Regions from separate parts of the Homo sapiens genome. Here region 2 is linked to region 1. Evidence: promoter capture Hi-C in human tissues and cell types (Jung and others, 2019). All regions are on one chromosome and are shown on one strand. Each heading gives the region's core, a stretch centred on a gene start or on the middle of the fragment in contact. The rest is flanking DNA. Distances are from core to core; before and after follow the strand shown. Region 1 holds the start of FGFBP2 (fibroblast growth factor binding protein 2). Region 2 overlaps CLRN2 (clarin 2).

Region 1 (3,772 bases), core at 405-2,904:
TATTCGTTATCAAAGTGCTGTTTATCAGGAAATCTGCTTTGTTCCTATTTTTCTTACATAGATAATATGAAAAAAACTCAGAAACTCTCCTTTTAAACTCAAAGTGCACAAGTAAGACTAGAATCCCATGTAAATGAACTCCTTACTGGTGTGCAAAATTAATGAAAGCTGCTACATTTAAGGATAGAGATCAGTAATAAGCCTTATTTCCACAAGAAAAAGTTTGGTCTTTTAAAAGCAATACTTGGAGTTGATTAAATCTGTTATTATTAATTAGATTTTCTCCTCTGTGATGAACAAAAAACAATTAAAGGCTTTGAGAGCTGTGAGAAAGACTTTAAAGACTATTTGACTCAAACTTTCCTCAGTGCACAACACTCCCCACCCTAACTTGACTGTAGGAGAAAAAACTGAGAACAAGACGGGGTGTGGCGACACCTCCACCATGACATAGCACCTCGGCCACTAACAGCTGCAGCAAATGCTTGGTTCATTAGGAAACGTTACCCGGCAGAATTCCAAAGGCCTCGGTCTAACAGTGAGGTGGTTCCATCACAAGGAGATTCTCAACCTTGGCTGCACATTCAAATCACTTGGGGGAGAGTTTTAAAAGTCCACATTCCTGCGCTACTATGTTGGAGACATAGATGGAACGGTCTGGCGAGGGGCCTGGGCATCAGCATTTTTAGAGCTCCTTGTAGGTGATTCCTATGCAACTCCAGGGTCAAGTGCCACTCCGGATGAACTACCTCATCTACACTGCTCTGCAACAGACAGCCTCAAACCCACCCCCAAACACACGCTGAGACTCTGATGTGGTCGCAGCAGCTGTGAAAGTGCTAAGTGCCTCTCACGTAGTCTCTGTATATAAGTATATACACGTAGTCTCTGTATATGAGTAAAGGAAAGGGTATTACCTGTAGGGGTCTTTCACCTGTCACCCTCGGAAGAAGCTGATGAGAAAGGCGCACAGGGCCTGGAAGGGTTTCCAACAATGTTCCCAGGCCTTCTTCTTTGCTTCCTCATTCCCTCCGGGCCTGGGTCCAGGCTGGGTAGGTTTGGCTGTGGGTCGGGTGGTGGGTTTGGCTTTTCCCAGCTCTTCCATCGAGTCCTTTCCCAGCTGTGTTGCTTCTGTGAGTTTCACTGTGGCCTTGGGCCTCAGAGATGGCGTCCCAGCCTCAGGCTGCTGGTTGGGCTCTGGGCTGCCCTTGAGGCTGGAAGTCACCTGCTGCATATGGGCCTGGGGTCCAGCCTCCCTGCACACGGATGGCCTAAGCACCGGGGCCCCCTGGCACGCATGGTGAAGGCGCCTCAGCTCCTGCAGGGCTTGATTCCAGTAAGGTTTGGGGTCAGCAGCGAAAGCCTGGCACATGCTGGGCTGCCCCCTGTACTCACACCAGTAGGTCTGGTCTGTGTTGCGGCAGTCGACACGAAGCCAGACTTCTCCAGCACCTTGCCCCAAGCTGCTGGGACGCATAGTGCAGGAATCTCTCCCTCCAGTCTGGAAATGGAATTCCTCCCCAGTGCTTCCTTGCTTTTGCCTCGGGGCCTGACCCAAAGTCCCCAGGCAGGACAAGGTCACCAGCAGGAGGCAGGGGACGAACTTCATGGCGATACTCCGATAAACTTGCTTGCAACTCTGCACCAGGAGAGAGAACACAAGTGGGACGAGTCACCCTTTAAAGGGTGCTGCACAAAAGACTCTTTCTCTGCAAGGGTGGGGAGGATGTTTTGCAGCAAATGAGAAACATGCCCACAGACCTTAGACACGTAACACTTGGCAAGGGCAGAGCAGCCACCAGGGGCCGCCCACCACAAGCAAAGGGAATGGTTTTCCTGAGTGCCTCAGAGAGATCTGCCCCAGCCCTGTCACGCACAAAGCGCCACACACAGCTTTGGGGCTGAGGGTTTTACAGTTTTCCAACCACAGGGTGCTTGCTCTAAAATTGGCCCTTGTACGGGAACAGCCTTCTTTGTCAACATTTGGTATATGCCAAGGTGTGGCAGTGGTATTCTGGAAAGTGAGGTTTGCAGCTGGGAGTCTGGGCTGCCTCGAGGCTCCCTCCTGCTCCCTGGAATCCCCATCTTGGGGGACCATGGGTTTAGTTAATCCAAAGGAAGCCAGAATTTTATGAGCCTAAGTGTTATGAGATGGCCTAGCAAATGCAAAAAAGACTATGTGAGGTTGTGTGAGGATGTGTGTGCCAGAGGGACACAGAGACACTCCCCCTCCCACCCACCGAGCTGAGAGTCACCTGGTGTGGCCTCTGTGGGGCTGTCCCGCCATCACCGTGGCCACAGGCCACAGTGCTGCAATGTTCACTTCCCTTGTTATTGCATGCCTTACAATTGCACCAACTGAATGATGACGAGGAAGGCATGCAAATATATGTTCACAGTGGGATTCAGTCTATTTTAGACCATGAATTCTATTTCAAATTCAATTGAAATAACACAGTTTTAATTATATCACAGGAAAATATGATTTTAAATATTATTATTATTGTTCTACAATAGAAAAAAAATAAATTGAAAATAACTTTTGATTCTGTGTCAAGAATCATAGTTTGGTATGGTCATAACTGTCTTTTGATGACCCTTCCAGAGGGCACTGTGGAGTGGACTAAAGGTGGCAATTTGCTGTTAGGAATAGGGTTGACGGATGTTGGGGGACTAGTTTGAATGTGAGGGATTTATCTTGGCGATCCCACGTAGGGTAGTTGGTACCTGGCACAGCCTTCCTTCCACCTGGATATCCTGAGTCCTGAGAAGACCTAGTAGGGCTGGAACTAAAGCCAGGCTGAGCTTCGGCAGCCACTGTGTGTGTAGCAGTGAGAGCCTTCCAGAAGAGGGCATCACCCCAGGTGGGGAGCAGAGGAAGCTTCCAAGAAGTGGTGCCAAACCTTCAAGACAAGTCAGTCAATTTGTCAGGTTGAGAAAGGGTAAAGGGCAGGTGTTTTTTTTGTTTGTTTGTTTGTTTGTTTGTTTTGGCCTCATTCTGTCACCTAGACCGGATTGCACTGGTGTAATTATAGCTCACTGTAGCCTCCAACTCCTGGGCTCAATTACTTCTCCTGCCTCAGCCTCTCAAGTAACTGGGACTACAGGCATGGGCTGCCACACCCAGCTAAATTTTAAATTTAAAATTTTTAGGGACAGGGTCTCACTCTGTTGTCCAGGCCGATCTCACACTCCAGGCCTCAAGCAATCCTCCTGCTTCCTTGTCCTCTGGAGTCACTGGAATTACAGATGTGAACCACCACAACCAGCTAAAGGTAGGTTTTTTTTTTTTTTCACACAGTCTTACTTTGCCACCCAGGCTGGAGTGCAGTGGCACAATCTTGGCTCACTGCAACCTCCACCTCCCAGGTTCAAGCAATTGTCCTGCCTCAGCCACCTGAGTAGTTGGGATTACAGGCGCCTACCACCATGCCAGGCTAATTTTTGTGTTTTTAGTAGAGATGGGGTTTCACGACGTTGGCCAGGCTGGCCTCAAACTCCTAACAAGTGATCCGCCCACTTCAGCCTCCCTAAGTGCTGAGATTACAGGCACGAGCCACTGCGCCTGGCCAAGGGCAGATTCTTAAGGCAGGATAATGCTTCCTGTAAAGGAGTGATCCTGGAGTGCAGGTTTATGGACTGCTGAAATGTCAAGGGCAAGGAGGCAGTGGTGAGAATCAGGCTGGAGAGGTGACTTAGGGTGGGGTCCGCAGCCCCCGTACCAATCCACAGGGCCAGTTCTAAGACAGAGGCTTGCCCTTTGTGTGCTTCC
Region 2 (3,691 bases), core at 503-3,002, 1.6 Mb after region 1:
ATTAGCATGCATAGGGGAAAAATCACAGAGTGATTGTCCGCTATCTCAATGGGGTACAGGTGGTTGTATCCTCTTCATCTTAGGGGAAAGAGAGATGGGGAAGTGTGGATGATTTTAGGGGACTAGTAAATTATTTTTAGGGAAATTCAATGGGCTTAAAGAACATACAGTGAGCTGGGACAAAGTCTGTTGAGCCCACAGAGCAGACATTGGTTTGTGACAAAAGTCTGTCCAGCTGTGTTAACAGACTTTAGTCTTTCTTCCTGTGATATGGGTACAATTAATGAACACTCAGGGAAGGGACCAGAGGTCTTTTTCTTTGGTAGGTCTGGATGTAGGCAGGTAAGGGAATGTCAGAGAACAACCTCATCCTGTGCTTATGAGACAGACAAAGAATGGAGAGACACGAGGGAGAGGGGAGGCCAGAGAGACCTTGAGACTTCTTCACAAAGCTTCATATTTTAGGGGTGTTGGTTTCTGAACCCCAACAGGTAAATCGTTGAAACTTGAATGGGGTGAGAAGATTAAACAGCAGTCACATGCCAGCATTAACCTAATGACCAGACCCCTGCCATTCCCAGCTCACAGAAATGTAAACTGCTTCGAGTAGGAAGCTGCAAACAAATGCATATTTTGTTTGAGCCTTGGAGGAACTCAGTAAGTACTTCTTGCCTTCCTCCTTCTTCCTTCTTAGAAGGACACCAATGGGAAACATTCCCCTGGGTTCATCTAACGTGGTCTGGTCTGGAAAGCATCAGAACCCTGTGAGAAGCATAAAGGACATTTTATTCTTGTCCCTGAGTAGGAGCGTATTTGAGAAGGTTTTGTTTCCTGCTGCCCTGGGGTTGTCTCAGAGGAGGGTCTGTAAACATCCATTCGCAGTACCTTGGATGTGATTCTCTTTCAAAGCATTCACGAGGAGCCTGGGGCCAGGTTCCTCCTGTGCTTGGCTGGCTTTACCCCAGTACAGCTCAGGGACACTGATAGTGCCAGTCTAGTCTCCTTTAGATTTACAGCTTTTAATTCTAGCACAGTGTAACCTCGAGGCAGCTACGGGGTATATCAGAGCCTCCCACAACCAGGAGTCTGTTTCTCCTGGGGTCTCTTTCTGCCATTCACTATCCATCTGTAGAAAAAAAAAAAAATAATCCCCACAGTCGCAGATCAGTGTAGATGGGGACGTAAGTGAAAATGCTTTGCAAACTCTGGGATGGGGAGGTTTATTGGGTCTCGTTCACAAACAGCCACTTTTCTCATCACAGAGGCCTCCCCAAAAAATCACCCAGGGGAATAAATTCCCACGCCAATCATGGAGAAAACCAAAGAACTATCCATCGCAAAGATTAAGGTCCTTTTTTTATACCCAGGCCCTATGAAATAAAAACAAGTCAACATGGCTGTTTGGGTGGCTAGAGAAAGAAAAAGACAAACATTACTTTAGCATTGTCCACACATTCAATTGTACTATGGAGTATTTACAGACCAGGCTCTTAAGAAAACAGGGATGAACAAACCAGACAAGTACTTGCCCTAGAAAAGCTTAACATCTGGCCGGGTACAGTGGCTCACGCCTGTAATCCCAGCACTTTGGGAGGCCAAGGCAGGTGGATCACCTGAGATCAGGAGTTTGAGACCAGCCTGGCCAACATGGTGAAACCACGTCTCTACTAAAAATACAAAAATTAGCCGGGCGTGGTGGCAGGTGCCTGTAATCCCAGCTACTCAGGAGGCTGAGGCAGGAGAATCACTTGAACTTGGGAGGTGGAGGTTGCAGTGAGCCAAGATTGTGCCATTGCACTCCAGCCTGGGTGAAAAGAGTGAAAATCCATCTAAAAAAAAAAAAGAGAAAGGAAAAAGAAAGAAAAATTTACCATCTGATAAAGGAGAGGCAGATAAATATATACTAGGCACAGAACACAGTATCTGAAGCCATTGCCTTGTAGTTCATTTCCTTCCATTTTTACTATGCTAGAGAAGAGATTTTATTACGCCCATTTTACTGATGAGGAAATTAGAGACCAGAGAAATCGATACATAAAATAATTTCTTTAAAAGCACCTAATGTAATAGATTGCTTTGCAGCTTTTAGTTCTCTGGTTCCTCTCTACTTCCTGCCTCACAGGTATTCCACTAGTGGCCAGGACCTGGGTTTGACTTCAGATGTCCTGCTTTTCTTATTTGCCCTGCTGGGGCGAAAAGGACTGCCAGACCTCTCTGGGATTCGGAGCAAACAAATTATCTTAGATGCTGATAGATGCTGATAGATGCATCATATGCTGATAGATGCTGATAGATGCATCATATGCTGATAGAATGATGCTGATAGAATGATTAATCAATTCTGCTTTCAAGTGAGTTGCCTCTAATGTGTAGGAAACAACTATATCTATTCAAATTCAAAATGAGACCTCCAGGATTCAAAAGACTCTATGTTTAGAATTTTAAACCTCTACTTATCTGTGCTTTCTGATTTTTCTGCTCTAGCCCTGTAATAGAGTAGTTAAGCTGACACTTTTCTTGCTGTGGGAGCGTAGCTAAGCTATTTCACTTCTCCGAGCCTCAGTTTCCTCATTTGTAAGCATGAGAGAGGGTGTCCATGAGCAACAGAACAAAGAATATGTATAAAGCCACCGGCACATAGTCTGCACCCCATATAGGTGGCTGTTGTCATTTATCACCATGAATCGTGTTGTCATTTATCACCATGAGTCGTGTGTAGGGTCATGGATTTCAAGCTAGAAACTTAAATTTAATTCCTAGTGGGAGACATCTAAAACTCTTGGAACCTGGATTTCAAATGTGAAAGGCAAGTGAGCAACAGCTTTCCTAGGGCAGCACTGGGTGTCAGGCTAAGGCAGAGTCACCTCTCAGTGAGAAAGTAGAAAGAACTGGTGCATTAACACTCCTGAGAAATGATTTGAATTTCTACTTTTTTCTTCTTTTTTAAAAAATAATTTAATTTAGAGACAGAGCCTTGCTATGTTGCCCAGACTTATCTCCAACTCCTAGCCTCAAGCAATCCCCCCATAATGGCTCCCAGAAGTGCTGGGATTACAGGCATGAGCCACTGCCCCAGCCTCGAATTTCTAAATAATGACATATATTAAAAAATAATAAAATCTCTATTAAACATGAGGTCCTGAGCCCTGTGTTATGGCCCAAGAATGTGGGGGTTGAGTGAGATTTGCCCTTTGCCAATAAGTATTTTTTAATTATAGTTAATGCACTTCCTACTATGAAGGCCGAGGACTGGGCACTCTTTACCACCCTCTCCACATCACTCCACATTCCCCAAATTCCCTCTCCCCCGTCATCCTAATATGATTATTTCTCAATTTTTAAAAATCAAATCTGGATATGGTTTCAATCATTATGTGGATATAATTCTTTCTTTTTAAAAGATGAATTATATACATTATGGACATTATGGATACTTTATTAAATCAGTCTATTCACATACTGTTTTTTCTCCAATCTTTTGCTATTGTAATGAATATCCAATATTTGATCCACGCTTTGAGCACATGTGGGAGTGCTTCTGGAAAATAAATTCCTAGAAGTGAATTTGCTTTAGTAGATGTTGCCAAATTGCCCTCTAACAAGGTTACATGAATTAATATTTCTATGAGACTTGAGAGTGCCTCTTCCTTACACCATTGTCAACACGGTGTTTTAGCAAACATTTTGATCT

The links. Contacts are between HindIII fragments. The study calls those that stand out against the background at their distance.
Region 2: a fragment that was not itself captured here is called in contact with the fragment with the promoter of FGFBP2 in region 1 in 1 of the 25 tissues and cell types used here (dorsolateral prefrontal cortex).

The regions. Positions count from the first base shown.
Region 1 is chr4:15,961,521-15,965,292 of GRCh38, forward strand. FGFBP2 (fibroblast growth factor binding protein 2) reads right to left here and starts at 1,655. Exons shown (of 2, transcript NM_031950.4): 1 at 918-1,655. The coding sequence starts at 1,609. The coding sequence ends at 938. RefSeq lists an enhancer at 1,685-2,526. The HindIII fragment of the contact is 18,537 bases long and covers 1-3,772 here.
Region 2 is chr4:17,516,930-17,520,620 of GRCh38, forward strand. All of the region lies in intron 1 of CLRN2 (clarin 2), which reads left to right. Among named protein-coding and RNA genes, the nearest start is that of CLRN2, 3.6 kb to the left of the region's middle. The HindIII fragment of the contact is 3,904 bases long and covers 1-3,691 here.